Linked DNA regions of Homo sapiens: regions 1, 2, 3, 4, 5 and 7 are each linked to region 6. The links are contacts of gene promoters, found by promoter capture Hi-C in human tissues and cell types (Jung and others, 2019). All regions are on one chromosome and are shown on one strand. Each heading gives the region's core, a stretch centred on a gene start or on the middle of the fragment in contact. The rest is flanking DNA. Distances are from core to core; before and after follow the strand shown. Region 1 overlaps ODF2 (outer dense fiber of sperm tails 2). Region 2 overlaps ODF2 (outer dense fiber of sperm tails 2). Region 3 overlaps LRRC8A (leucine rich repeat containing 8 VRAC subunit A). Region 4 overlaps GLE1 (GLE1 RNA export mediator). Region 5 overlaps SPTAN1 (spectrin alpha, non-erythrocytic 1). Region 6 holds the start of ZDHHC12 (zDHHC palmitoyltransferase 12). Region 7 overlaps KYAT1-SPOUT1 (KYAT1-SPOUT1 readthrough).

The links. Contacts are between HindIII fragments. The study calls those that stand out against the background at their distance.
Region 1: a fragment that was not itself captured here is called in contact with the fragment with the promoter of ZDHHC12 in region 6 in 4 of the 25 tissues and cell types used here (dorsolateral prefrontal cortex, liver, mesenchymal stem cells and 1 more).
Region 2: a fragment that was not itself captured here is called in contact with the fragment with the promoter of ZDHHC12 in region 6 in 1 of the 25 tissues and cell types used here (dorsolateral prefrontal cortex).
Region 3: a fragment that was not itself captured here is called in contact with the fragment with the promoter of ZDHHC12 in region 6 in 2 of the 25 tissues and cell types used here (liver and spleen).
Region 4: a fragment that was not itself captured here is called in contact with the fragment with the promoter of ZDHHC12 in region 6 in 9 of the 25 tissues and cell types used here (adrenal gland, aorta, dorsolateral prefrontal cortex and 6 more).
Region 5: a contact is called between a fragment that was not itself captured here and the fragment with the promoter of ZDHHC12 in region 6, in 3 of the 25 tissues and cell types used here (IMR-90 fibroblasts, adrenal gland and mesenchymal stem cells).
Region 7: a contact is called between a fragment that was not itself captured here and the fragment with the promoter of ZDHHC12 in region 6, in 2 of the 25 tissues and cell types used here (hippocampus and lymphoblastoid cells).

The regions. Positions count from the first base shown.
Region 1 is chr9:128,475,143-128,478,872 of GRCh38, reverse strand. The region is part of intron 8 of ODF2 (outer dense fiber of sperm tails 2); the gene reads right to left. Among named protein-coding and RNA genes, the nearest start is that of ODF2-AS1, 4.0 kb to the right of the region's middle. The HindIII fragment of the contact is 8,207 bases long and covers 1-3,730 here.
Region 2 is chr9:128,495,428-128,499,049 of GRCh38, reverse strand. It overlaps ODF2 (outer dense fiber of sperm tails 2), which reads right to left. Exons shown (of 21, transcript NM_001351578.2): 18 at 2,909-3,009; 19 at 475-637; 20 at 1-49. Among named protein-coding and RNA genes, the nearest start is that of GLE1, 7.5 kb to the left of the region's middle. RefSeq lists an enhancer at 2,926-3,220. The HindIII fragment of the contact is 9,273 bases long and covers 1-3,622 here.
Region 3 is chr9:128,892,111-128,895,955 of GRCh38, reverse strand. The region is part of intron 2 of LRRC8A (leucine rich repeat containing 8 VRAC subunit A); the gene reads right to left. Among named protein-coding and RNA genes, the nearest start is that of LRRC8A, 12 kb to the right of the region's middle. RefSeq lists an enhancer at 3,105-3,712. The HindIII fragment of the contact is 8,143 bases long and covers 1-3,845 here.
Region 4 is chr9:128,539,086-128,543,022 of GRCh38, reverse strand. It overlaps GLE1 (GLE1 RNA export mediator), which reads right to left. Exons shown (of 16, transcript NM_001003722.2): 14 at 3,325-3,407; 15 at 2,685-2,748; 16 at 735-1,921. The coding sequence ends at 1,853. All of the region lies in intron 2 of LOC101929270 (a long non-coding RNA gene), which reads left to right. Among named protein-coding and RNA genes, the nearest start is that of SPTAN1, 12 kb to the left of the region's middle. The HindIII fragment of the contact is 3,623 bases long and covers 1-3,524 here.
Region 5 is chr9:128,559,937-128,563,826 of GRCh38, reverse strand. The region is part of intron 1 of SPTAN1 (spectrin alpha, non-erythrocytic 1); the gene reads right to left. Among named protein-coding and RNA genes, the nearest start is that of SPTAN1, 9.3 kb to the right of the region's middle. The HindIII fragment of the contact is 5,340 bases long and covers 1-3,890 here.
Region 6 is chr9:128,721,852-128,725,819 of GRCh38, reverse strand. It overlaps ZDHHC12 (zDHHC palmitoyltransferase 12), which reads left to right and starts at 1,693. Exons shown (of 5, transcript NM_032799.5): 1 at 1,693-1,826; 2 at 3,246-3,382; 3 at 3,734-3,811. The coding sequence starts at 1,727. It overlaps ZDHHC12-DT (ZDHHC12 divergent transcript), which reads right to left and starts at 1,358. Exons shown (of 2, transcript NR_046240.1): 1 at 1,185-1,358. RefSeq lists a silencer at 1,325-1,804. The HindIII fragment of the contact is 17,684 bases long and covers 1-3,968 here.
Region 7 is chr9:128,863,094-128,867,138 of GRCh38, reverse strand. The region is part of intron 1 of KYAT1-SPOUT1 (KYAT1-SPOUT1 readthrough); the gene reads left to right. All of the region lies in intron 1 of KYAT1 (kynurenine aminotransferase 1), which reads left to right. Among named protein-coding and RNA genes, the nearest start is that of KYAT1, 17 kb to the left of the region's middle. RefSeq lists an enhancer at 3,255-3,549. The HindIII fragment of the contact is 3,497 bases long and covers 109-3,605 here.

The DNA of each region.
Region 1 (3,730 bases), core at 39-2,538, 250 kb after region 6:
GGCCCTGGAGCCGACTCGGACTCCAGAACCAGAGCAGTTCCCCACCACACTGAGCACTACCCAGCAAGCACCGAGATGGTGAGGGAGCCCTGAGCACAGATGGGCACCAAGGAGCTGAGCCTGGACAAAGCACAAAACACCACTTTTGGGTGGGAATTCAAATTAGCTGACCCTTCATCTCCAATTGAAGATGGGACTCCAGGATGACAGAAGCTAAGAAACCAAAAAAGGAGAAAACTGGCTAGAGCAAGAGGCTTTTTTTTTTTTTCCTTTTTGAGATGGAGTCTCACTCTGTCACCCAGGCTGGAGTGCAGTGGCATGATCTTGGCTCACTGTAACCTCTGCCTCCCGGGTTCAAGCGATTCTCCTGCCTCAGCCTCCTGAGTAACTGGGACTACAGGAGCGTACCGCCATGCCAGCTCATTTTTTTGTATTTTAGTAGAGATGGGATTTCACCGTGTTGCCCAGGCTGGTCTCAAATTCCTGAGCTCAGGCAATCTGCCCACCTCGGCCTCCCAAAGTGCTAGGATCACAGGCGTGAGCCGCCATGCCTGGCTTTCTTTCCTTTTTGAGATAGTGTCTGGCTCTGTCATCCAGGCTGGAGTGCAACAATTTCAGAAGCCGAGGCAGACAGATCACTTGAGGTCAGGCGTTCAAGACCAGCCTGGCCAACACAGCAAAACCCTATCTTTACTAAAAATACAAAAAATTAGCCAGGTGTGGTGATGCACACCTGTAATCCCAGCTACTCAGGAAGTTGAGGCAGGAGAATCGCTTGAACCCAGGAGGTAGAGGCTGCAGTGAGCTGAGATTGTGCCACTTCAGCCTGGGTGACAGAGTGAGACTCTGTATCAAAACAAACAAAAAAATTAATAAAGCTTCCCTCTGAGGGGAGGGAGACAAGGTTATTGCAAAATGACACACAAAAGGGAATCAACTATGTAGACACTTATTTTAAAAGCTGGGCGGTGAGTGGCCGGGCACAATGGCTCACCCCTGTAATCCCAGCACTTTGGGAGGCTGAGGCGGGTGGATTACCTGAGGTCAGGAGTTTGAGACCAGGCTGGACAACATGGTGAAACCCCGTCTCAACTAAAAATACAAAAATTAGCCGGGAGTGGCACCTGTAATCCCAGCTGCTTGGGAGGCTGAGGCAGGAGAATCTCTTGAACCCGTGAGGGGAAGGTTGCAGTGAGCTGAGATTGCGCCACTGCACTCCAGCCTCGGTGACAGAGCGAGACTCCGTCTCAAAAAAAAAGAAAAAAAAAAGCTGGGCAGTGAGGATACCACTTTACATTACTTGTTATATATATATATAATTTTTTGGGGGGACAGTCTAACTCTGTCACTCAGCCTGAGTGAGTGACACAATCTCAGCTCACTGTAGCCTTGACCTCCAGGGCTCAAGCAATCCTCCCACCTCAGCCTCCCGAGTAGCTAGGACTATAGGTGTGTGCCACCACACCTGGCTAAATTTAAAATGTTTTGTACAGATGAAGTCTCACTGTGTTGCCCCGGCTGGTCTCAAACTCCTGGCCTCAAGCAATTCTCCCACCTCGGCCTCCCAGAGTGTGGGAATTACAGGCGTGAGCCACCACACTTGGCCTTATTTTATATATTAACAGGTTTTTTTTTTTTTTGAGACAGAGTCTCGCTCTGTCACCCAGGCTGGAGTATAGTGGTGCAATCTAGGCTCACTGCAACTTCCCCCCTCCTGGGTTCAAGCAATTCTCCTGCCTCAGCCTCCCGAGTAGTTGATATTACGGGTACCCATCACATTTTTGTATTTTCAGTAGAGGTGGGGTGTCACCATGTTGGCCAGGCTGGTCTCGAACTCCTGACCTCAAGTGTTCCACCTGCCTTGGCCTCTCAAAGTGCTGGGATTACAGGCATGAGCCACTGCACCCGGCCAATATATTAATTTTTAAAGATAAGGCCGGGCGCGGTGGCTCATGCCTGTAATCCCAGCATTTTGGGAGGCTGAGGTGGGCAGATTGCCTGAGTTTAGGAGTTCGAGACCAGCCTGAGCAACACAGTGAAACCTCATCTCTACTAAAAATACAAAAATTAGCTGGGCATGGTGGCACGCACCTGTAATCCCAGCTACTCAGGAGGCTGAGGCAGGAGAATCACTTGAACTCGGGAGGCCAGAAGTTGCAGTGAGCCGATATCGTGCCACTGCACTCTAGCCTGGGCGACAGAGCAAGACTCTGTCTCAAGAAAAAAAAAAAAGATAAAAACAAGGTTGACAATGTTAAAACAAAACGAAACAAACAAAAAAACAGGGCTTGGTGTGGTGGCTCACGCCTGTAATTACAGCACTTTGGGAGGCCGAGGCAGGTGGATCACCTGAGGTCAGGAGTTCGAGACCAGCCTGACCAATATGATGAAACCCCGTCTCTACTAAAACTACAAAAAGTAGCCCGGTGTGGTGGCATGCACCTGTAATCCCAGCTACTAGGGAGGCTGAGACAGGAAAATCACTTGAACCCAGGAGGTGGAGGTTACAGTGAGCCAAGACTGTGCCATTGCACTCCAGCCTGGGCAAGAGTGAAACTCGGTCTCAAATAAAAAAGCAAAAATAAGAAGAACGTCACCATTTCATTAGCACTGGCATTTTGAGACTATTGTCATCTCTTTGCTTAGAACCAAGCAGGAGACAACCATTTATACTGTCAGTCTTTTCTGCAATATTTGCTAATATATCATCATTCACAATAGCCAAGATACGGAATCAACCTAAGTGTCCATCAACAGATGAATGAAGAAAACGCAGTAGAGATACACAATGGAATACTACTGAGCCTTCAAAAAGGAAATCCTTTCACAACATGCACAAAACTAGAGGATATTATACTCAGTGAAATAAGCTAGGCCCAGAAAGACCACATGACTTCATTTATATGTGGAACCTAAAGAAGTTGAACTCGGCCGGGCGCGGTGGCTTACCCCTGTAATCCCAGCACTTTGGGAGGCTGAGGTGAGCGGATCACAAGGTCAAGAGATCGAGACCATCCTGGCCAACATGGTGAAACCCTGTGTCTACTAAAAATACAAAAATTAGCCGGGCATGGTGGTGCACGCTTGTAGTCCCAGCTACTCAGGAGGCTGAGGCAGGAGAATCACTTGAAACCGGGAGGCGGAGGTTGCAGTGAACAGAGATCGCGCCACTGTACTCCAACCTGGGCGACAGAGCAAGACTCCATCTCAAAAAAGAAAAAAAAAAGAAGTCGAACTCACAGAAGCAGAATGCTGGTTGCCAGAGATGGAACTGGGGGGCATTGGGGAAATATTGGTCAAGGATATAAGATTTCAATTAGACAAGGAGAAATTGTTCAACATGGTGACTATAGTTACTGATGTGTATACTTGAAAATTGCTAAGAGATAATTTTAAGTGTTTTCACCACAAATATCTTAGTATGTGAGGCAATGCATATGTTGATTAACTTGACTTAGCCATTCTATATTGTGTACGTATGTCAAAACATGTTGTACATCATTAATTTTTATTTGACTATCAAAATAAGAAAAGAACTACAGTCATCCCTTGGTATTCATGGAGGACTGGTTCCAGGACATTCTGTGGATACCAAAATCCAAAGATGCTCAAGTCCCTGATATAAAATGGCACAGTATTTGTATATACTTGTGTACCTCCTCCCATATACTTTAAATCATCTCTAGATTATTTATAATACCTCATACAAGGTAAATGCTATGTAAATAGT
Region 2 (3,622 bases), core at 1-2,500, 230 kb after region 6:
TCTGGGCTGCTCGCTCCTTGGAGAGTGCGTGCTCCTTGGTTTGTTCCACCTGCACATTCAAAGGCCCAGACATGAGACTGGTTTACCGGACATGGGGAACACTTGGCAAAGAGAAGGCTGGGCCCACTATCTGGTCTTGCAGACAGCACTTGCACATCATTGTGGACTGTGTTCTCTAGAACGCTGGGGCAGGAACTAACTATGGGGACTATGCCTGCCACCCAGCTTTGCCAGTGCTCCAGGAGTCACCACCTAAGATGTGGTAAGCCTATGTGAGGCTCAAGAGGGTAGTGAGTAAATGAGCAATCATCAGATATCAAGTGCTGAGCCCTCTACGATGAAAATGTGATCCTTACAACTAATTCATGAAGCGGGTACTACTGTGTGCCCATTTTTCAGATGGAGAAATAAGCTGAGAGTTTAGGTGATTTGCCCAAGGTCACAGAGCTAGTCATTCATGAAATCGGGACTGACCTGCCTCCTCGCATCTTCAATGGCACTCTCCAACTGCCTTGCCAGGGTCCCACATTCCCGTGTTTTCTCCTCCAGCCGCAGCTGGGACTGGTGGATTGCCTCCTCCCTCTTGGCAATCACCTGTAGGAACTCGATATTCTGGGCACTGGTCGCCTCCAGTTTCCTAGGTGAAAGCACTCAATCAGATCCTGGGCATACCCCAACCTGTCATGTTCCACCCCGCCAGGGGGCTGCCAGCCTCTCCTGGACTGGGGATCTCATCATGCCAAGAATCTCCAAGGAGCCACAGGAATAAGCCAAAGAAATCTGCAGATCAGCAAGGCGACCAAAGAACTGTGCAGCTGGAGCAACTGGTTAGAGAACAGAGTGAAGGGTGGGAACGCAGAGACTGACCGTGGGCTTTGTTAAGTGTGGATAGCATCACATGGAACACAGCAACTTGCAGCTCAGAAAAATGGTACCATTATTATCCCCACTTCAGAAATGAAGAAACTGAGCCTCAGAGAGGGGAATTCATTGGCCTGAAGTCAGCACAGCTGGCAAGTCTGTAACCAAAACCTAAGCCTGCAACTTCTGCTGTTCACTGCTGCCTCCCACAGCAAAGGGACTTCAGCTACACCACTCAACATCTTGTGTGACCAGCCATAGGGCAAATATGGCCATCCCGATATACACACACTGTCCTCAGTGCACTTCCAGGATGCCTTCCAATTTAAGGAGCTCTGCAGGGCCTGGGGGATCTAGCTGCCATTTCCAAGGCTGGCAGGGCAGAGCAGAGGTGGAGCCTGGAAGGAGCCCACTTGGTTGTAGCCTCCTTGCAAGTGCACTGGCCACCTGAGGCACTTAGGGCCTCCTAGGATGTCAGGCACCTTCACCTCTGAAACTAAGGCTGGGACCAGGGCTGGAGGACTCTTGCCCACCTCTTTTTTTTTGAGATGGAGTCTTGCTCTTTCGCCCAGGCTGGAGTGCAGTGGTGCTATCTCGGCTCAATGCAAGCTCCGCCTCCCGGGTTCACGCCATTCTCCTGCCTCAGCCTTCCGAGTAGCTGGGACTACAGGCGCCCGCCACTGCGCCCGGCTAATTTTATACATATATATATATATATATATATATATATATATATATATATTTTTTTTTTTTTTTTTTTTTTTTAGTAGAGACGGGATTTCACCGTGTTAGCCAGGATGGCCTCGATCTCCTGACCTCGTGATCCGCCCGCCTCGGCCTCCCAAAACGCTGGGATTACAGGCGTGAGACACCACGCCCGGCCTCTTGCCTACCTCTTAGAGATGCTCACAGAAGCTCTCGAGGAAGACAGTCACGGGTCTAAGTCATGCTTTGCCAGGTACCAACAGTGTGATGCTGGGAAAGTCACTTAACTCCTCCCCAAGCTCAGTTTCCTCATATTTAAAACTGGGATAATACCAGCTAACTAATAACATGTTCTAAGCTATACTGAGCGCTTCTCTATGCCAGGTAACATGCTAGGACCTTTACCAGGATTATATCATTGAAGACTCACACCACCACCATGAAAAGATTATTATCAGCCAGGTGTGGTGGCTCCCGCCTGTACTCCCAGCACTCTAGGAGGCCTAGGTGGGTGGATCACTTGAACCCAGGAGTTCAGGACCAGCCTGGGCAACACGGCGAAACCCCATCTCTACAAAAAATACAAAAATTAGCCAGGCATGGTGGCATACGCCTGTAGTCCCAGCTACTTGGGAGGCTGTGGCAGGAGAATTGCTTGAGCCCAGGAGGTCGAGGTTGCAGTGAGCTGAGATTGCACCACTGCACTCCAGCCTGGGTGACAGAGTGACATGATAGATAGATGATAGATAGATAGATAGATAGATAGATAAACTCTACCTTGACCCTTTCCTCAAAAGGAGGAAATTGAGCTTCAAAGGAATTAAATGATTTGCTCAAGATCACAATGCTGGTAAGTGGCAGAGCTGGGCCCCAAGGCCAGGGCTTCTGATTCCCAAAGCCGTACCCTTCACCTCTGACTGCCTCCAACAATCCGTAAATAACAGAGAACGGTCAGATCAGAAAGGTCTTGGGAAGGGTGACTGGCAAGAAAGGGCAGAAAAGAGTGGGGAAGTGCCCCCACCACAGTATACTGGCTGCTCCATTCAAACTGGGCCCTCCTGGCAGGCCTGGACCAGGCATGCCTTTTGGGACAGGTGGTGCCTACAGGTGGGCAGATCCTGATCATGCTGTCATGGAGTGTCTCCCCAGGCTGAGAGGCCCCCTTGCTCTCTCCCACAATGCTTACCACTGAAATGGAAGCAGCTTTTCCTCTGAGGTCTGCCTAGTACCTTCCAGGGCCTCGAGTCCCTCAACACTTCCGCACACTAAGCAAAAAACAGCTAAGTGGCTGAAAGTCTCAGGTCCTAGGAAGAGGACAGAGATGGGACCAAGTGCCTCTAACCTCTCCAGTTCATCCACCTTCAGACTCAGCTGTTTATTTTCCTTCTGGGAAGCCTGATGTTTCTCTCTCGCCATCTCCAGCTTGTCCCCCTGGTGTTCGATCTAAAATGACAGGAACACAGACTGGTTTACAAAGGAATTTCCCGCTAGAGCCCTCCCCTTTCCCTATGACCTGTTGTCCACACCCAGGAAAGGGGCACAGTGCCCTCAGCAGGTGTCCAAGTCTCAACGCACAACCTAGAGGAGAAAGGACAGCAGGGACAGGTTAGGCCCAACTCCAAAGACAAAAGGCTCTCCCCACACTGGGAGAAACCAGGTTTGATGCTAAAGAATGACAAAGATGCTTTCTCGATCAGGGGAGGCCACTCAGAGAGACCCAGCTAGGATCCAGGACAGACATGAGAAGGCAGAAACAGCTGGCAGGGCTAACTGGCCCATACAAACCAACCACAGAGCTTTACCTGTTATGTTGCTGGTACTATTGATCTCAACCTCCTCTTAACTGGGGACAAGTGCAGGCAAGACAACAGGAAATCTGTCAATCCTTTTGAGTTGGCAAGTTTGAGAATTTACCCAGAGGGCTGTTTTATGCAGAAGCCTCAGCTATCAAGGCTCAAAGTCCCTGAGAATGCTCAGGTTCAACGGAGAAGGCAGGCAATGTAAGGTTACAGTACTGAGAATGTGGGCTTGGGAACCAGACAGAGCTGGCTGGGTT
Region 3 (3,845 bases), core at 8-2,507, 170 kb before region 6:
AAGTCTGACAAAGCTGAGTTCTTGATATGGATGTATCTGTTCTAGTTTTTATACTTTTCTTAAACCATTTCATCACACAAAACTCACTGAAACACTCATGCATTCCTACCCTGCATAGCCAGTGCTCTCCCCAACCTCCCACAGGCGAAGGCTCAGCGGGGAGCAGCAGCTACTGCATCTTACCAGGTTACCGGAGCAGCAGAGGCAGCTCCTCCTACCAGCTGCTGCTCCTCAGCCCCTGAGGACCCTGCAGAACTCGTAAGCACTCCCTACCTGGTCCTGCCCTGCCCCCAGGGAGATGTAGAAGTGGGCATCATGCAGAACAGGCCCTTCCCACAAGGCAGCTCAAGCAGGTGCCTAGGACAAATGGGACCAGGTTCCTGGCCAGGGCCAGGGCATCTCTGTGCCTGGGGGTTAAATGAGTAACCCAGAGAGCCCCAGCCTTCCCTCAGGCACAGGTGGATCTCAGGGAGCAGAGAGAGCAAGGACTTGGAGTTTGGGACATGTAGGTTCAAATCCAGCTCCAGCAAGAAATAATTCTGTGACCCCAGGCAAATTGTTTAGCCTAAGCCTCTGCTTTTACAACTTATTTTATTTTATCTTGGAGACAGTCTTGCTTTGCTCCGTGGCCCAGGCTGGAGTGCAGTGGCACGGTCTTGGCTCACTGCAACCTCCACCTCCCGGGTTCAAGTGATTCTCCTACCTCAGCCTCCCGAGCTTCTACAACTTTAAATCAGGAATAACGCCACCTTCCTTGTAGATGTGTATGCAGTGACCCCAGAGACATCTAAGAGATATTAAGCATAAAAGAATTTTGCTGAGCAGTATATAAAATGTGTTATCTGCGAAAGAAGCCAGTCATAAAAGGCAAATACTTTGATTTCACTTATTCACATAAGTGAATAGACAGAAAACAGAAGGGATACCAGGGCCTGGGGGAGCAGGAAATGGGGAGTGAGCGTTTAATGGGTGCAGAGAGTTTCAGTTTTGCAAGATGAAAACAGTTCTGGAGATGGGTGGTAGTGATGGATACACAATATGAATGTACTTAATACCATTGAAGTGTACACTTACAAATGGTTAAGGTGGTAAATTTTATGTCATGTGTATTTTACCACAATGAAAAAAATTAGGAAATATGATATCTTTTTTTTTTTTTTTTTGAGGTAGAGTCTCACTCTGTTGCCAAGGCTGGAGTACAGTGGTGTGGTCTTGGCTCACTGCAAACTCTACCTCCTGGGTTCAAGCGATTCTCCTGCCTCAGCCTCCCAAGTAGCTGGGACTACAGGTGTGTGCCACCACTCCTGGCTAATTTTTGTATTTTTACTAGAGATGGGGTTTTGCCATGTTGGCCAGGGTGGTCTCAAACTCCTGACCTCAAGTGATTCACCTGCCTTGGTGTCCCAAAGTGCTGGGATTACAGGTGTCAGCCACTGTACCTGGTCTGTTACTGGTATAATTTTTTTTTTTTTGAGATGGAGTCTCACTCTGTTGCCCAGGCTGGAGTGCAGTGGCATGATCTCTGCTCACTGCAAGCTCTGCCTCCCAGGTTCACGCCATTCTCCTGCCTCAGCCTCCCAAGTAGCTGGGACTATAGGCACCCACCACAATGCCCGGCAAATTTTTTTGTATTTTTAGTACAGACGGGGTTTCATCGTGTTAACCAGGATGATCTCGATCTACTGACCTTGTGATCTGCCTGCCTCAGCCTCCCAAAGTGCTGGGATTACAGGTGTGAGCCACCATGCCTGGCAATTTTTTAAAACAAGAATGATGGCTGGGCACGGTGGCTCACGCCTGTAATCCTAGCACTTTGGGAGGCCGAGGTGGGTGGATTACTTGAGGTCAGGAGTTTGAGACCAGCCTGGCCAACATGGCGAAACCCCGTCTCTACTAAAAATACAAAAAAATTAGCTGGGCGTGGTAGCACACAACTGTAGTCCCAGCTACTCAGCAGGCTGAGGCAGGAGAATCACTTGAACCCGGGAGGCGCAGGTTGCAGTGGGCCGAATCTGTGCTGCTGTACTCCTGCCTGGGTGACAGAGTGAGACTCTGTCTCAAAAAATAAAATTATATCAATAACAAACTCATTACTGTGTACAGAAAAGAATTTAGAAAGCTATGCACAGAACTATATATAGTTAAGTCTACTCGTGGTGAGACTGTAGAGGGCTGTCTATATTATACATTCTTCCATTATTTAAATCTGGTATGTTTATGAGTAGAAAAACTGCTTGGAAATAAATCAAAAGACCTTCCTCACTGTGTGGTTTCTCAGGATGATAAAAGAATTTATGCGTAGCTGCCATCCGTACATTAGAAACAGGTCAGCCTCATCCTCCCTGCCCTGCCTCGTAACACTCACGCTCAGCAGCTTGCGGTCCTCACCTCCTGGGAGCAGAGCAGGGAGGAGTTCAGACCCCAGAGTTGGGCAACTCAAACGCCAACCCCACTACTGCCTCACTGGGGCCTCAGAGCCTCTGTGTCCTCAACTGCAAGATGGAAATATTACATCCTAAAATGGGTTATAGCTGTGAAATGGGTTATCGTGAGAATTAAAAGTAAGGCATCATGTGTCAATACAGCACCGGGCACACTCAGGCTGTCGTTCCACGGTCCCACCTGCCATCGCAGATGACCCTCCCAGAATTCAGTGGGGACTGACCTGGGTGAGGGCGGAGCCTCAAGCACCATGTCTCTGAGCAGGGCCAGACCACTCAGAGACCCACAGGACCCCCCAGGACTCGCAGAACCTCGAAAACTCGCAGACCACTCAGAGACCCTCCCAGGCTCAGGACCCCGTGTGGCAGAGTTGGCCATCTGCTCTCAGAGCCAGTCATTAGGTTCAGCCCCAGTCCACATCCCCTGGATGCTTCTCGAAGACAGGGAGTCAAGAAATGACAAGCTGCCCACTCTGTCCCAGAGAGAGACCCCCCCAGCACGCACCAGACCCCATGTGGGCCCACAGGGATTTGGCGTGGCTCCCACACCTGGGCGGCAGGCAGTCGGGCTGCGGGTAAACAGGGCACAGAGAGCCTTTTGTGAAAGCACAAACAAGGCTGAGCCAGGAAAACTTCCCAAGCAGGAGGGGAGGCGGGAGGTTGGCACCCCTCCTGTACCAGAGATGGGAAGGCTGGCCCTCCAGTGCTCTCCCAGGGAGCGCGAAGGGGCCGCTCTCAACAGGCCCTGTCCCGGGAGGGTTCCAAGCCTGTGGATCTGCTCCCACCACGGGCCATGGGTCATGTGCTTCCCCTGTCCCAGAGCCAGAGTGGGAGGAGAGGTCTCAGCCTCGTCTGGCACACACAGCCTCCACCCTCCCCAGGGCGGACACTGCCCTGGAGGCCCCCACACCCAGCTGGGGTGAGTCAGAGGCTGCTGGCTGGGGGTGTTGCCTGGCTTGGGACTCGCCCTGTGTAGAAGGGTACACCCTCACTTCCTGGGGAGAGGAAGAGGGGAGACGCCAGGGCTGGAGGGGGAGGGGAGCACGGGTCAGTTCCAAACTGCTCTCACCTGGGCTGGGCTCCCAAACAGGTTCATCCTCACACCAACTTGCAAGGGCGTGGCCCGCCTTCTAGGGTGAAAGGCAACAGGTGAGGGACACCCACCTGGGCTTCCCCCAGCAGCTCCGGAGCCAAGCAGAGAGAGGCAGCAGGTGGGGCTGGAGGTGCAGCCTCAGGACCTGCCCTCGCCCTGCCAGGCTGGGGCAGGAGCGCCCAGTTACTGACCGTCAACTAAGTGCCCAGTATGTCCTTGCCCCATCTCCCAACCTTCATGCATAGCAGCAAGGTGGCACCCACCTCACCACGAGACCGTGAGAAAGTCCCTTCACCTCGCTGGGCTCTGGT
Region 4 (3,937 bases), core at 464-2,963, 180 kb after region 6:
AGTGGCATGATCACAGCTCGCTGCAGCCTCGACCTCCCAAGCTCAAGTGATCTGCCCACCTTAGCCTCCTGAGTAGCTGGGACTACAGACATGTGCCACCATGCCTGAAAAATTTAAAAAAAAATTTTTTTTTTTTTTGAGACAGAGTCTTACTCTGTCGCCCAGGCTGGAGTGATCTCGGCTCACTGCAGCCTCTGCCTCCTGGGTTCCAGCAATTCTCCTGCCCCAGCCGCCTCTTGGGTAGCTGGGATTACAGGCACACACCACCATGCCCAGCTAATTTTTGTAATTTTAGTGGAGACAGGGTTTTGCCATGTTGGCCAGGCTGGTAAGACGTGAGCCACCGCGCCTGGCCAAAAAAATTTGTTTTAGACATGGGGGTCTCACTATGTTGCCCAGGCTGGTCTTGAACTCCTGGACTTAAACAATCCTCCCACCTCAGCCTCCCAAAGTGTTGGGACTGCAGGCATGAGCCACTAAGCACGGCCTATTGTGTCTTTCAAAGATTTTAATACACTTTCACATCTCTTGCTAGATAAAATAGGGTCAGTTATTAGTACATAATTCCAAAAAAGGAAATGACAGAAAAAGAAGTAATATTCCCAAGGTGTAGGTCAAGAAGACCAAAAGGAATAAATGCATACCGCTCTATACCTGGACTTGTATACTATCATGATTTACATAGCTCAAGGCAGAGGAAATTGATCATATTGAACCAATATATCAGCAATGGGTTTTTCAAAAAACCAAGCTTTATTATTAATTTTTTTTGGCACCTTAATTAACAATTCATAGAATGGGTCACTTCAGGCCACTCAAGAGTACCAGTGAACACTCCCCCACAAACACACCCTGCCACAAGACATTTAGCACAGAGGAACAGATCCATGGCCACTGCCTCTGCAGTATCAAAGAGAATTAGTCTTTCCACAAAACAAATTTTAACAGCCAATCTCTGGATTTCTGTAGTGGCTTTAGTCAGGCATATTTATCATCATATTAGCAGTGTTCAGTTCCTGCCCAACATCTTTATTTAATCCCAATTCAATGCTTATGGATGCTCAGCTCATGTTTAATGTTGCAAGCCCCATCTTAGCCCATCTTAATTCAAACAGAAAAGAAACAAAACAAAACAAAAACAAAAAAGGTACCTGCCTGGTTCATGGATCCCTAGCCATCCAGGGACCAAATTCCAAATTAGGATGACAAAGAGTTTCCCTTAGTTCAAAATGACATGTGTTTCCAGTCCTAATCCCAGATGTTAATCTAGCCATAGTGTCACCTGAGCCTTAGTCCATGTGTATATCACATACTTCCTCTAGCTTTAGAATGACTTCACAAGCTGAGAAAGGCAAAACAACCATAACCCAGACTTGCATGTAAGTATCTGGCCTCAACTATTAAATAATACTTAAAAGGGAACCTTATGAGCCTTAGCTCTTTCTGGAAATTCATCTGAACAGGGGTGAGGGTGGGTAGGTGGGTGCAAATGGTGGGCTCCCTCCAGCTCAGAGTGCATTTGTTAAGGTATTGCCAACTTTCTGAAAGACACTAGAGACAAGGGAGGAGACCAAGTGCTAAAGACCTTTTATCACTTTTGCAAAAAACAAGAAAGGCCAACTCCATTTATTTTATCACGTGGATCTCTTAAGGAACTACCAAATCTACTAAGGGACCTCCAAGAATTTTGTGACCCATGAAAATCTCCTCTCCTAGTCACAAGGCATAAATACATAAAAATACATAATGGCAAATTTCTGAATCTGACATGACTTCTCCCAAATACAGCTGTCTTCAGTTCCTTTATTATTGCCTCTTTGCAGCAGCGGTGATGGTGGGTGATGGAGTGACATCAGGAGCGCCAGAAGGAGGAAGTCAGAAAGCCCTTGGGGACAGGAATGTCCTTGTGTTGCAAACATTTCTGGTCAGGGAAAGATGAAGAAAACAGAATGAGTTTCTGATAACAGTGTTCCCAACACTTAATGGTTAAAAGAAGCTTTGAGGAACACCATATTTCAGCCCTATGGAACAGTGAACAAAAAGGAAAAAGCCAGTAAGACTGATGGTTCTGTATAAGATGTCCACTTCTGCATGATCTGCTCCAGACAACAAATGAAATGCTCTTATTATTCCTGTCCCACTCTTGTCTCCCTACAGGCTAACCTCATCTTTCACAATCACTATTTTCACAATCGAGCTTTGAGAAGCTGAAAAGTCAGCAGGCTATCTTGGCAAACCCACTATAGTGTTCTAAATTCTTTGTCAAAATTAACCTTTTACAATCTCTTGGCACTTGGAAGTAGGGGAAGAGTCCAACTGAAAGTGCAGTTTGATCTCATGGAGAAAAGTGATGACACTTACCAATTCCCCAGACCTGAGACTAAGAAAATAACCTTGGCCAACATGCAAAAAAAATATATATTAATGAGAGGAGATACACTAAATATATTTTACTCATCTCAGCATAGCTTTCTCACAGGCAGTATAGAGAATGATACATATAAAGAAGAGGAAATGGCAGCCCTTACTCCAAAGGTTAAGAGGGAATTAGGAACAAAAAGAAGGGTTTGGAAGAACTAAGGAAGAGAGTGCAATCAGAGCATCGGAAGGTCCAAGACTTGTCAGACATAGGTGCATTCCAGCCCAACAACAGTGTGGGGCATGTTGGTCTAAGGGCATCTTACCTCCAAGAACTGCTTGAGGCGTATGAAGGAGCCCATCTGTCCTGAGCTTGTGATAGCTTCAATTCTACAGGGAGAGAAAGACACATGAATCACACCTATGATATACACCTATCTTTTGGAAACGGTGTCTCACTCTGTCACCTAGGCTGGAGTGCAGCGCGGTGGTGCGATCATAGCTCACCGAGGCCTTGAACTCTTGGGCTCAAGCGATCCTCCTGTCTCAGCTTCCCTAGTAGCTGGGACTATAGATGCATGCCATCATGCCTGGCTAATTTTTTTTTTGTAGAGATGGGGTCTTGCTATATTGCCCAGGCTGGTTTTGAACACCTGGGCTCAAGTGATCCTCCTCCTGTGGCCTCCCAAAGAGCTGCAATTATAGGCATAATTATAGGCATAAGCCACTGTGCTCAGCCCCTAATTTGTGTTTTTGTTTGGGCAATGATATTTAAGACAGACTCTCATTAAGGTTCAAAAGCATTTATTCAAATATCAACGAGAGGGACTGGAGTAGGAAAGATGTCATACTTAGTACAGGTGTTTTTAACTTGAATCAAAACCAGCAGGTAATAGCACCCTTGGGTATCTGAGGCCTGGTTATGAGTTACTTAATCCCCTGCTGTCTGCTCAACAAGCCTGATACCTGGGAAAGTAGTCCTCTTTGATGAGAATTAGCATCTTCCAGAACTGAACCTGGTATTGCTTCATGAGGGCATTCCCACACACCTAGAGGGAAAGACAGGCACTGTCAGAGCAGAAAATGAAAATTCACACTCACAGGACAGATTCATAAAGCACAATCAGCCCTTCATCTTTCACACCTATCAAAAATTTCAACCACAATGCCACTGAACTTGCTAACAAGGGAATAAATGGAAACACCCAACTTTCTTCTAAAGCATTTCTCTTTATATGGCAATATCTCCATTTAACCAATCAGGTCTTAATGAACTACTCTTCTTTTCCTCTAATGAATGGACGCCTTCCTAAAGGTATGGTATACCTCCCAAACTTAGTAAGGAGAGTATACAGAATACCACTTGTGTTCTCAAATGATACAGGATCATTGTTCATGTATGGTGACTTCAGGAGCTTTTTATTTTTTTTTGAAATAGGGTCTCACTCTGTCGCCCAGGCTAGAGGACACTGGCATGATCACAGCTCACTGTAGCCTCAACCTCCCTGGGCTCAGGTGATCCTCCAACCTCAGCCTCCTCAGTAACTGGGACCACAGGCACACACCACTAATTTTTGTA
Region 5 (3,890 bases), core at 715-3,214, 160 kb after region 6:
GGCTCTAAAAAAAAAATTATCCAGGCATGGTGGCATGCGCCCGTAGTCACACTACTGTACTCCAGCCTGGGTGACACAATGAGACCCTGTCTCAAAAAAAAAAAAAAAAAAGAAATGGTTGAATAAATGATCAAGTCCATGCTGAATGTTGCAGATGCTGTGCAGCAGACCTGAATTCATTTGTAAGGGGTAGGGAGAGAGCTCCATAACGAATCTTTCAGTTTGCATATTGTAAAATTGGAATTCTATCCAGTTAAGTGCTAGACTGATGACAAGAATGGCAAATAAAGAATGTGCTGACTAAAGCTACACAACTAGGTGTCAACCTAATGACTAAATCTGAATTACCAATCTTGGATTGACCACATGGCAGTATACTCTGAGAAAGTGGCGTTTTTTTGTTTTTTGTTTTTTGGCAGGGTCTCACTCTGTTGCCCAGGCTAGAGTGCAGTGATACGATCTCAACTCACTGCAACCTTGCCTCCTGGGCTCCAGCGATCCTCCCGCCTCAGCCTCCTGAGTAGCTAGGAGTACAGGCAGGTGCCAGCACACCTGGATAATTTTTATATTTTTTGTACAGGTGTGGTTTCACCATGTTGCCCAGGCTAGTCTCGAACTCCTGGACTCAAGTGATACACATGCCTCAGTCTCCCAAAGTGCTGGGATTACAAGCATGAGCCACTGCACTGGCCTATTTTCTATTCTTAAAACAGACGTCAAGTCCTTAAAACCAAAAACTGGGAGTGACCTTGAAAAGCTTAATGTCTGCTCAGAGCAGTTTTTGTAATAAAATATATACATATATATATATATATATATATATATATATATATACACATACATGTATATATATATTTTTTTTTAGACGGAGTCTCACTCTGTCGCCCAGGCTGGAGTGCAGTGGCGTGATCTCGGCTCACTGCAAGCTCCACCTCCTGGGTTCACGCCATTCTCCTGCCTCAGCCTCCTGAGTAGCTGGGACCACAGGCGCCTGCCATCACGCCCGGCTAATATTTTCTATTTTTTAGTAGAGATGGCGTTTCACCGTGCTAGCCAGGATGGTCTCGATCTCCTGACCTCGTGATCCGCCCACCTTGGCCTCCCAAAGTTTTGTAATATTTAATGATAACAGGCAGTCATAGTTTACACTGCTGCCCTAAGTCTGTCAGCCTATTTTGGAGAAGGCTGATTTCTGATGAGGACCCTGACAAGGATCACTATAATCACATTTACTACAAGGTAAACAAGACTTCACTCAGTCACCTTCCAGTTGTCTCCTCCAGCCGTATCTCATGTCAAGCTCCCTCACCAACACCAATTACAGGTCCTGGACAGGGTCCATTTGAAAGCTCAAAAAGTTCCCTTTCCCAGGAGTGCACTCTCCTCTCCCACTCCCAACCCTACCATCTAATATCATACAGATCTCGGCTGGGCGCGGTGGCTCACGCCTGTAATCCCAGCACTTTGGGAAGCCGAGGCAGGTGGATCACAAGGTCATGAGCTCCAGACCAGCCTGGCCAACATGGTGAAACCACATCTCTACTAAAAATACAAAAATTAGCCGGGTGTGGTGGCACGCGCCTGTAGCCCCAGCTACTCGGGAGGCTGAGGCAGAAGAATCGCTTGAACCTGAGAGGCGGAGGTTGTGATGAGCCCAGATCGCGTCACTGCACTCCAGCCTGTCAAAAAAATAAAAAATATAAAAAACAAATCATACAGATCTCTGAGTCCAAAGCAAATGCCTCGTCCTCTATGAAGTCTTTCTGAATCAGAAGTCTCCACTCCCTGACCACCCACCTCTATCATTCATCTTATAACACTGCCACATTCTGCCATGAAATTATTGTGTTCTCCCTACCACATTCATAAGTCCTTTAAGGAACTCTAAAGAAGACCATATTTTACTCTTACTCTCTGGGCACAGAACTCAGGACTTGGCACATATTATAGATCCAATTATATTCAGAGCTTGGAAATAAAGAAACTGCCATCGTTTTATAATTAAGTAGTTGGGAGACAGGTAATTTAGTAAGCAAGTTGCAAAGGCCAGGATGACCTGGGATCCTCCGGTTCCCAGAATATGGCACAATAGACACAGTGATTCTTAACATGATTAGAGTTGACATATTGACATATTCTTTTTTTTTTTTTTTTTTTTTTTTTTGAGACGGAGTCTCGCTCTGTTGCCCAGGCTGGAGTGCAGTGGTGCAATTTCGGCTCACTGCAAGCTCCGCCTCCCCGGTTCATGCCATTCTCCTGCCTCAGCCTCCCGACTAGCTGGGACTACAAGCATCCACCACCTCGCCCGGCTAATTTTTTGTATTTTTAGCAGAGATGGGGTTTCACCATATTAGCCAGGATGGTCTCGATCTCTTGACCTCGTGATCTGCCTGCCTCGGCCTCCAAAAGAGCTGGGATTACAGGCGTGAGCCACCGCGCCTGGCCTTTTTTTTTTTGAGATGGAGTCTTGCTCTGTCGCCAGGCTGGATTGCAGTGGTGCGATCTTGACTCACTGCAACCTCCGCCTCCAGGGTCAAGCAATTCTCCTGCCTCAGCCTCCCGAGTAGCTGGGACTACAATCACAAACCACCACGCCCAGCTAATTTTTGTATTTCTCTTCTTTTTAAGAGACAGGCTTTCACTATGTTGGCCAGGATGATCTTGATCTCGACCTTGTGGTCCGCCCGCCTCGGCCTCCCAAAGTGCTGGGATTACAGGCGTGAACCACCGTGCCTGGCCGACATATTATTTATTGATGGCTGTTTGGTTATTTATTAGTTCCTTTCACTTCTTTTTTTTTTTTTTTTTTTTGAGATGGGGTCTTGCTCTGTTGCCCAGGCTGGAGTGCAGTGATGCTATCTGGGTTCACAGCAACATCCGCCTCCCAGGTTCAAGTGACTCTCCTGCCTCAGCCTCCCCAGTAGCTGGGATTACAGGCACCCGCCACCACACGCGACTAATTTTTGTACTTTTGTAGAGATTGGGTTTCACCATATTGGCCAGACTGGTCTCGAACTGACCTCAGGTGATCCACCCACCTCAGCCTCCCAAAGTGCTGGGATTACAGACGTGAGCCACAGCACCCGGCCTTCACTCCCTCTTTATTAGTTCCTTTTCACATCTGCACTTTGGAGTGAAAAAACAGTGAGGCAGACACAGTGGCTCACACCTGTAATCCCAATACTTTGGGAGGCGAGGCGGGCAGATCACCTGAGGTCAGGAGTTTGAGAACAGCCTGGCCAACGTGATAAAATTCTGTCTCTACTAAAAATACCAAAATTAGCTGGGTGTGGTGGCACATGCCTGTAGTCCCATCTACTCAGGAGGCTGGGGCTGGAGAATCCCTTGAGCCTGGGAGGCGGAGTTTGCAGTGAGCTGAGATCAAGCCCCTGCACTCCAGCCTGGGTGACAGAGCTAGACTCCGTGTCAAAAAAAAAAAAAAAAGGCGGGCACGGTGGCTTACACCTGTAATCCTAGCATTTTGGAAGGCTGAAGGGGGTGGATTGCCTTAGCTCAGGAGTTCGAGACAAGCCTGGGCAACACGGTGGAACCTCGTCTCTATTAAAATACAAAAAATTAGCCAGGTGTGGCGGCGTGCGCCTGTAATCCCAGCTACTTGGGAGGCTGAGGCAGGAGAATTGCCAGAACCCGGGAGGCTGAGGTTGCAGTGAGCCAAGATCACGCCTTTGCACTCCAGCCTGGGCGACAGAGCGAGACTCTGTCTCTTAAAAAAAAAAAAAAAGGTGAGGTGGATGTGGATGTATTAATCATTTCTTAAAAATCAAAATTATCGGCCAGGCAGGGTGGCTCACACCTGTAATCCCAGCACTTTGGGAGGCCAAGGCGGGTGGATCACCTGAGGTCAGGAGTTTGAAACCAGCCTGGCCAAC
Region 6 (3,968 bases), core at 444-2,943:
TCAGGCTAGTCAAAGGTGGGAATTGGGGCCAGGCATGGTGGCTCACACCTGTAATCCCAGCACTTTGAGAGGCTGAGTTAGGCAGATCACTTGAAGTCAGGAATTCGAGACCAGCCTGGACAACATAGTGAAACCCTGTCTCTACTAAAAATACAAAAATTAGCTGGGCGTGGTGGCATGTGCCTGTAACCCCAGCTACTTGGGAGGCTGAGGCAGGAGAATCACTTGAACTTGGGAGGTGGAGGTTGCAGTGAGCCCAGATCGCGCCACTGCACTCCAGCCTAGGCAACAGAGTGAGGCTCTGTCTCAAAAAAAAAAAAAAAAAAAAGGTGGGCATTCATTGACTCTTGCAACCAGGGGATGCAGAGTCAGTATCAGCTTCAGGGACAGCCGGATCTAGAGGGCTCAGACAATGTTGTTCAGACCATCTCTTGCTCCCTCCTTTAGTGCTGCTTATCCATCTCTATGTGTCTTTATAAGTTGGTCTCATTTTCTCCAGCCACAGACAGGGTAAGCCCTCTCCGCCCAGCGTAAAGACGGCTCCCAGTTGCCTTATATCCCATTCCTTAGGCTTGAGATCCAAAAGAATGCTCCTTCCTCTCAGCATCTAGACAGTAATCTCATGGAAGGCCTGTGATTGGTTCTGCAGAGTCGAAAGCCCACAGCCTGCCGCTCGCCATCCTATGGGGTGAGGGGCAGTCCCTCCAATCACATGGGATGGGAAGTCGATTCCCCAACCAAAAAAAGGATGTTGAGCTGAGAAAAACAACAGATGTCAGAGGAGTATCCTGGAGGAGCTGGGATGGGGCCAATCAGAGGGAGGCGGAGGAGGATGCTGGTATCAGTGGGAGGTGCTGTGGAAAGGCGGGGCTGAGTGGAGAAGGCCCTGGGGACACAGGGAAGGAGGACAGCCTGCAGCCTCCGGTGAGGAAAGTCCGCCTGTAGGTGGTGGCTCACAGCAGGAGAGGCAAGACAGTCCCGTGCTAGACAAGGCGCTTCCATTATTTAATCCTCCCAAACACCTTAGGAGGAAGACACTATTGTAATCCCCCTTATAGAGACAGAAAACAGCTCAGAGGGGCTCAGTAACTCGCCCAGGGTCACACAGGTAGGAAGGGGCAGTGCTGGGATTTCTGACTCCCGCCTAAGTTGGATCACCCATAGTCAGAATGTGCACCACGTACCTCCACTTTTCTCTCGTCCGTTTGCAATATCTGAGAATACATAGCAAGGAGGTAAAGCTGTCACCACAGAGCAACCTTGGGCGAGCCTTGGCCCTCTCGAGACTTTAGTCATCACATCTTTGAAATGGGTACAATTTTGCCTCCCGGACTCACAGCAAGCCGCTGGATCTTCGAAGCGCCCAGGGAGCTACGCGCATGCGCGAGGCTGCGAGGGCGGGCACAGGGGAACGCGGGGGAGGGCACAGCGGAGCGCGGGGGAGGTGCGCGCGCGCTCCGGCGCTTTCAAAAGTTACCTGGCGGGTGGGGCTGGAGTTGAGGGAGTTACCAGCTGCGCGCGCGCCGGCCCCACCCTCAGCCTCTTCAGGCACCTGTTGGCTTGAGGGTCCATTCGGCCGCAGATGCCATCCAATAGGCAGCCTCCCTGACCCAGTCCGGCCCCGCCCAACGCCTAGATCCACCAGTCCCCGGGCGGCGGCGTTCCCCTCCCTCGGAGGGCCCGCCCCTCTGGGCGCTTCTTCCGGGTGGGGCCCCGGGCCGAGGCGATGGCGCCCTGGGCGCTCCTCAGCCCTGGGGTCCTGGTGCGGACCGGGCACACCGTGCTGACCTGGGGAATCACGCTGGTGCTCTTCCTGCACGATACCGGTGAGCCGGACCCCGAGCGACCCCGGACCCACCCGATCCCGCGTACTTCCCCAGACGTTCTGGTCACACTGGGTCTCCCGCCTAATCCCTGGAGATCCTGGGATTGGCCCGATCTCCACCAGCTCCTGAAGCCCTCTCCCCATCTATCATTCCAAGAGCCACCTGCTCTCTGTCTGATACCCCGTTGATCCCTAATTAATCCCAGCATCTTCCTGATCATTGCCAAATGCCCTGTCCATCCCAGGACCCAGCCGGTGCCCACCAGATCCAAGGACCGACTTGAGCCCCATGTCCCCTGATCCTGGGACCCACATGATCCTTCCCAGGAACTGACCCCAAATCTTCCTATCCATACGATTAGGAGGCTCAACTAGATGCAAAGATTGGCATTCTGCCCACACCCACACCCCCCACACCCCCATGGCCACTAGCTGCCCAAGTCCAGGCAAACCCTCAGGCCAGAGAACACTCCATGGGGTGCGGCCTGTCTCCCATCTTCCCACAGATTCACCCACCCACCCACCTCCATTTCCCTCATTCCTCTTAGTAGCCCCCTACCCAGCGCCTCACCTGCCACAGGCAGCCTCCCCCACTGTCCCCCACAGCAGACCCCAGCCCTCCTTCCATGGCGGTCCAGCCTCAGTTTCTGGACTGGGGCCCCTTCTGGCTTTCCTCCCAAGACAGACCTCCTCCACCACCTTCACCCTTTAGCCTAAAAACTTGCTCAGGTCTCCGTATCAGAAAACCCCCCTCAAAACCCACCCTTTCTTCTCTGCTCCCCCTTACAACCAAGGGACACAGGATTTGTCTACACTCTGCTGTCTGGTGGTCTCATGCCCCCTCACTCCTTGCCCTGCACCCTACCTCCCCAAAATCCTGTCACCTCCCTGGGCTGAAGCCTGCTGGACCCTTCCGTATGCCCCTCTGCAGCATCTGAGCCTGCCAGCTGCACCCTTCCCACTGTATCTCTCTCAGGCATTTCAGACCTAACCAGTCTCTCACCATTGCAGAGCCAGAGACGCTGGACCCCTCTTCCCTCTCTCCCACATCCAGTCAGGTCTGGCTCCCTTGACCCAGCAGCCCCCTGTCCATTCCTTCCTCCCTCACTTCCTGCCAGGCCTTTGTAGCGACTCTCTTCTTCCTCCTGGCCAGATTCTCTGCCCCCAGGCTTCCCCTGATCCATTTCTTTAGCAATGAGGTTTTCCAAAACAGATCTGGCTCTATAACCTTCCATGGTTCCCTCTGACCCTCCAGATAAAAGTGCAGATGAACTGCTGGCCACACACAGCCACTCATGGAACCAACATCTCCAGGCCTTTGCTCAGCCAGGAACACACTTCCCCACCTCCAACTGCACCCCAACCCCACCCACTCCTGTTCTACCCGGCCCAGCCTCACTGTGCTCTCCGGCCTCTCCAGAGCTGCGGCAATGGGAGGAGCAGGGGGAGCTGCTCCTGCCCCTCACCTTCCTGCTCCTGGTGCTGGGCTCCCTGCTGCTCTACCTCGCTGTGTCACTCATGGACCCTGGCTACGTGAATGTGCAGCCCCAGCCTCAGGTAACCAGGGGCCCCTACTCTCACCAACAGGGACCTAACAACCAGCACCAGTCTCCATGCCAGGCTCTGTGCTGCAGGCTCTTGTGGGAGCAGTTCAGTGACTCCTCTTGCCACCCCTAGAGCCCCATCTACAGTAGTGAGGAAACTGCTGGGCCCCAGAGAAGGAAGAGACTTGCAAACATACACAGCCGCCCTCAGTCCAGGGTGCTCCGCCATACCCCACACCTCCATTCTGCATGGGATGGGTCCCAAACTCCATACCCAGAGCTAAGCCGGCCCCTAGGGGAGCTGCCCGCCAATGCCATCTGTCTCCCAAGGGGACCCTGTCTTACACCCCACCCCTCATTCCAGGAGGAGCTCAAAGAGGAGCAGACAGCCATGGTTCCTCCAGCCATCCCTCTTCGGCGCTGCAGATACTGCCTGGTGCTGGTGAGTGATGCACGGACACCCGTGGGAGAGGTTGGGCCAAAGCTGAGACTCCTCGACCTCCTCCTGCCCCACTGCCTGGGCCTCGCCCCTCCTCCAAGAAGGCCTTCCAGAATCAGGCCCTGATTCCTTCCCTCAGTGGTGGGCCCACAGCAGGGCT
Region 7 (4,045 bases), core at 608-3,107, 140 kb before region 6:
TTATTATTAAATTGCCCTCCAAAACTTACACCAGTGAACACTCTTAACCTAGTGCTTGCTTTTCAAATCACAAATTCTCACCTTTTAGTACATTGTAGGATCAGTTTGGTGGGTCTCAAGTTTGTCTTGGCCCATCTGAGAGGCAAAAAATAGTACTTCGCTTTCATTTACGTATCACTAATTATGACTAATTTTCAGCATCCTTTCAAGGTTATTGACTTTTTTTTTTTTTTGAGACAGAGTCTCGCTCTGTCACCCAGACTGGAGTGCAGTGGCACGATCTCAGTTCACCACAACCTCCGCCTCCTGGGCTCAAGCGATTCTCCTGCCTCAGCCTCCCAAGCAGCTGGGATTACAGGCGCACATCACGGCTAATATTTTTTATATTTTTAGTAGAGACAGGGTTTCACCATGTTGGCCAGGCTGGTTTTGAACACCTGGCCTCAAGTGATCTGCCCGCCTTAGCCTCCTAAAGTGCTGGGATTACAGGCATGAGCCACTGCGCCCGGCGACTATTTTCTTTTCTTTTCTTTTCTTTTTGAGACAGAGTCTCGCTCTGTTGCCCAGGCTGGAGTGCAATGGCACGATCTCAGCTCACTGCAACCTCCACTTCCCAGGTTCAAGTGATTATCTCACCTCAGCTTCCCGAGTAGCTGGGATTACAGGTGCCTGCCACCACACCCGGCTAATTTTTGTATTTTAGTAGAGACAGGGTTTCACCATGTTGGCCAGGCTGGTCTCAAACTCCTGACCTCAGGTGATCCGCCTGCCTCAGCCTCCCAAAGTGCTGGGATTACAGGCGTGAGCCACCACACCCAGCGACTATTTGCTTTTGTGAATTTCCCATTTATATCTTTTTCACACTTTTTCTTATTGAGATGCTGGTCTTTTGTTGTCGATTTATACAAATATTTGCATATTAAGGCTCATATTATATTAAAATGGCCCAGTTACTTGTTTGTCTCCTTGATTAGATTGTGCGCTCCTTGGAGGAAAGGAAGGTATCCTATCACCCTTGTATACATGGTGGCTAGCTTAGGGAATGAATAGCACATAATAGGAATTCACTGAGGAGATGTACACTTACCATATGGCAGGCTCTGTGCAAGATGTTGAGAATAAAAAGATGAACAGAAGAGAATCTTTGTTCTAACAAAGCTTACAGTCTGGTGCAAGCGATAGACATTCATTCTCATTCTGCAGGTTTATTGAGCAGCTGCTCTGTGCCAGGTGCATAACGCCCATTGGAAGAGCCAGCCTATTAGGATGAGAAAAATGTCAGGACTGGGACTTCGCTAACCTGGTCCTGGGAAATCTGGGTGGGTCAGTTCCCCATCCCTGGTTATCAGTATCCCCATCAATAAAATGTGAGCCACTGGACCAAATTCTCTCATTTCCCATTGAGCATCCATGCATCTGTGCTGCTTTGGCTTTTGGAAAGTAGGAGTCAGAGTCCTGAGTTCAAATATTGGCTCTGTGCTGGGTGTGGTGGCTCACGCCTGTAATCACAGCACTTTGGGAAGCCGAGGTGGGTGGATCACCTGACGTCAGGAGTTTGAGACCAGCCTGGACAACGTAGTGAAACCCCACCTCTACTAAAAATACAAAATTAGCCTGGTGTGGTGGTGCATGCCTGTAATCCCAGCTACTTGGGAGGCTGAGGCACGAGAATCGCTTGAACCCGGGAGGCAGAGGTTGCAGTGAGCCAAGATCGCACCATTGCACTCCAGCCTGGGCAACAAGAGCGAAACTCTGTCTCAAAAAAAAAAAAAAAAAAAATATATATATATATATATATATATATATATATATATATATATATATATATATGTAGGCTCTGCTACTTGTTAGCTGTGGCCTTGGGTGTGTGACTTAGCCTTTTTTTTTTTTTTTGGTGTGGGAGGGATGTGGGGAGGGACATGGTCTTGCTTTGTCACTCAGGCTGCAGTGCAGTAGTGCAATTATGGCTCACTTCAGCCCCAACCTCCAGGCTCAAGTGATCCTCCCACCTCAGCCTCCCGAGTAGCTGGGACTACAGACGTGCACCACCACTCCCAGATAATTTATTATTTTTTGTAGAGATTGAGTCTCACTACGTTGCCCAGGCTGGTCTCGAACTCCTGGGCTCAAGGGATCCTCCTGCCTTGGCCTCTCTTGCAGGCATAAGCCACTGTACCTGACCACTTAGCCTCTTGAAGGAATCTTTCTTATAGGATTAAAAGTGATGGGAAGCCAGGAGCAGTGACTCACACCTCTAATCCCAGCACTTTGGGAGGCCTAGGCAGGCGGATCACTTGAGGTCAGGAGTTCTAGACCAGCCTGGTCAACATGGTGAAACCCTGTCTCTACTAAAAATACAAAGATTAGCTGGACATGGTGGTGCACAACTGTAGTCCCAGCTACTCGGGAGGCTGAGGCACAAGAATCACTTGAACATGGGAGGCGGAGGTTGCAGAGAGCTGAGATCGCGCTGCTGCACTTCAGCCTGGGCGACAGAGCACGACTTTGTCCCCCAAAAAATAAGTAAATAAATAATAAAAGTGATGGGACCTGATTTCAAGTAGTCAAAATCGCAGAGACAGCAAATGGGCTGGGCTATGGGCCAGAGGGTAAAGGGATGTAATTGTTTAATGGGTACAGAGTTGTCAGTTTTACAAGATGAAAACAGTTCCCAAAACTGTATACCTGTACATAGTTAAGATGGTAAAGTTTATGATATGTGTATTTTACCAAAATTTTTTAAATGAAAAACTTTTTTTTTTTTTTTTTTTTTGAGACAGAGTCTCGCTCTGTCGCCCAGGCTGGAGTGCAATGGCGCAATCTCGGCTCACTACAATCTTCGCCTCCCGGGTTCACAACATTCTCCTGCCTCAGCCTTCCAAGCAGCTGGGACTATAGGCACCCGCCACCATGCCTGGCTAATTTTTTTTTCGTATTTTTAGTAGAGACGGGGTTTCACTGTGTTAGCCAGGACAGTCTCGATCTCCTGACATTGTGATCCACCTGCCTCGGCCTCCCAAAGTGCTGGGATTACAGGTGTGAGCCACCGCGCCCGGCCTGAAAAACATTTTTAAGTGGTGGGACGTGTAGGGCTCCACGGGGCACCTAGCACAGGAAAGCGTGTGGTAAATAAAAGGTGACTGCCAGGGCTGTTGAGGAGCTGACTAGGGAAGGCCTGCTTCCTAGAAAAGGGGTGAGGCGCAGGGCATTGGAGGGAGGTGTGCCTGGGAGGTCAGGAGTCCTGCCTTATGCGGGAACCTGGAGCAGCACCCTCCCTGCTTTGGGCCTCCTCTGTGAAGTGAGGCGTAGTCCCCTCCTGGGGCCAGCAGGTTGCTCTGTGACCTGGGCCAGCAACCTCAAAGCCACGAGGGGCCTGGCTCCTTGCGCCCCCTGCTGGCCGACTCGGGAATAACACACCCACAAGCCCCCAAGTTGCTCCCAACCAACCTGGCCAAGTTGCTGGGTTAAGGCAGCCTACGTGCCCCCTGTACCCTTCTGCTCTTGGCTGAGAACCCCTTATGGCTTCTCCCTCCCTCCCTCCCTCCTAAGTTCCTGGAACCTACCTTCACCACACCCATAAGCTCACAGACACAGACACAGAGATGTGTGCACATGCTCAGGTGCAAGCTCTTGTATTTGGATCCTTTTGTTGTTTTGGTTTTTTTTTTTGTAGAGAAAGGGTGTTGTTATGTTGCCCAGGCTAGTCTTGAACTTCTGAGCTCAAGCGATCTGCCCACCTCAGCCTCCCAAAATGCTGGGATTACAGGTGTGAGCCACCATGCCCAGCCTCCATGAATTATTATTATTTATTTCATGCATAGAAAATTGATGTTCAGAGAGGTAAAATGGCTTGCCTCATGTCACACTGCCAAGGTCATCAAAGCCTGTGTTCTAATCCTTCCCCCGTCTCTCAGCACTGCCCTCCTCCTTGTGTGTCTACTTGGGGCCTGATCCTGGGTGTGGTAATAGAACAGACCTACCCTGTGGAGGGTGCAACATAACATTCACTTCTGGCCGGGCATGGTGGCTCATGCCTGTAATCTCA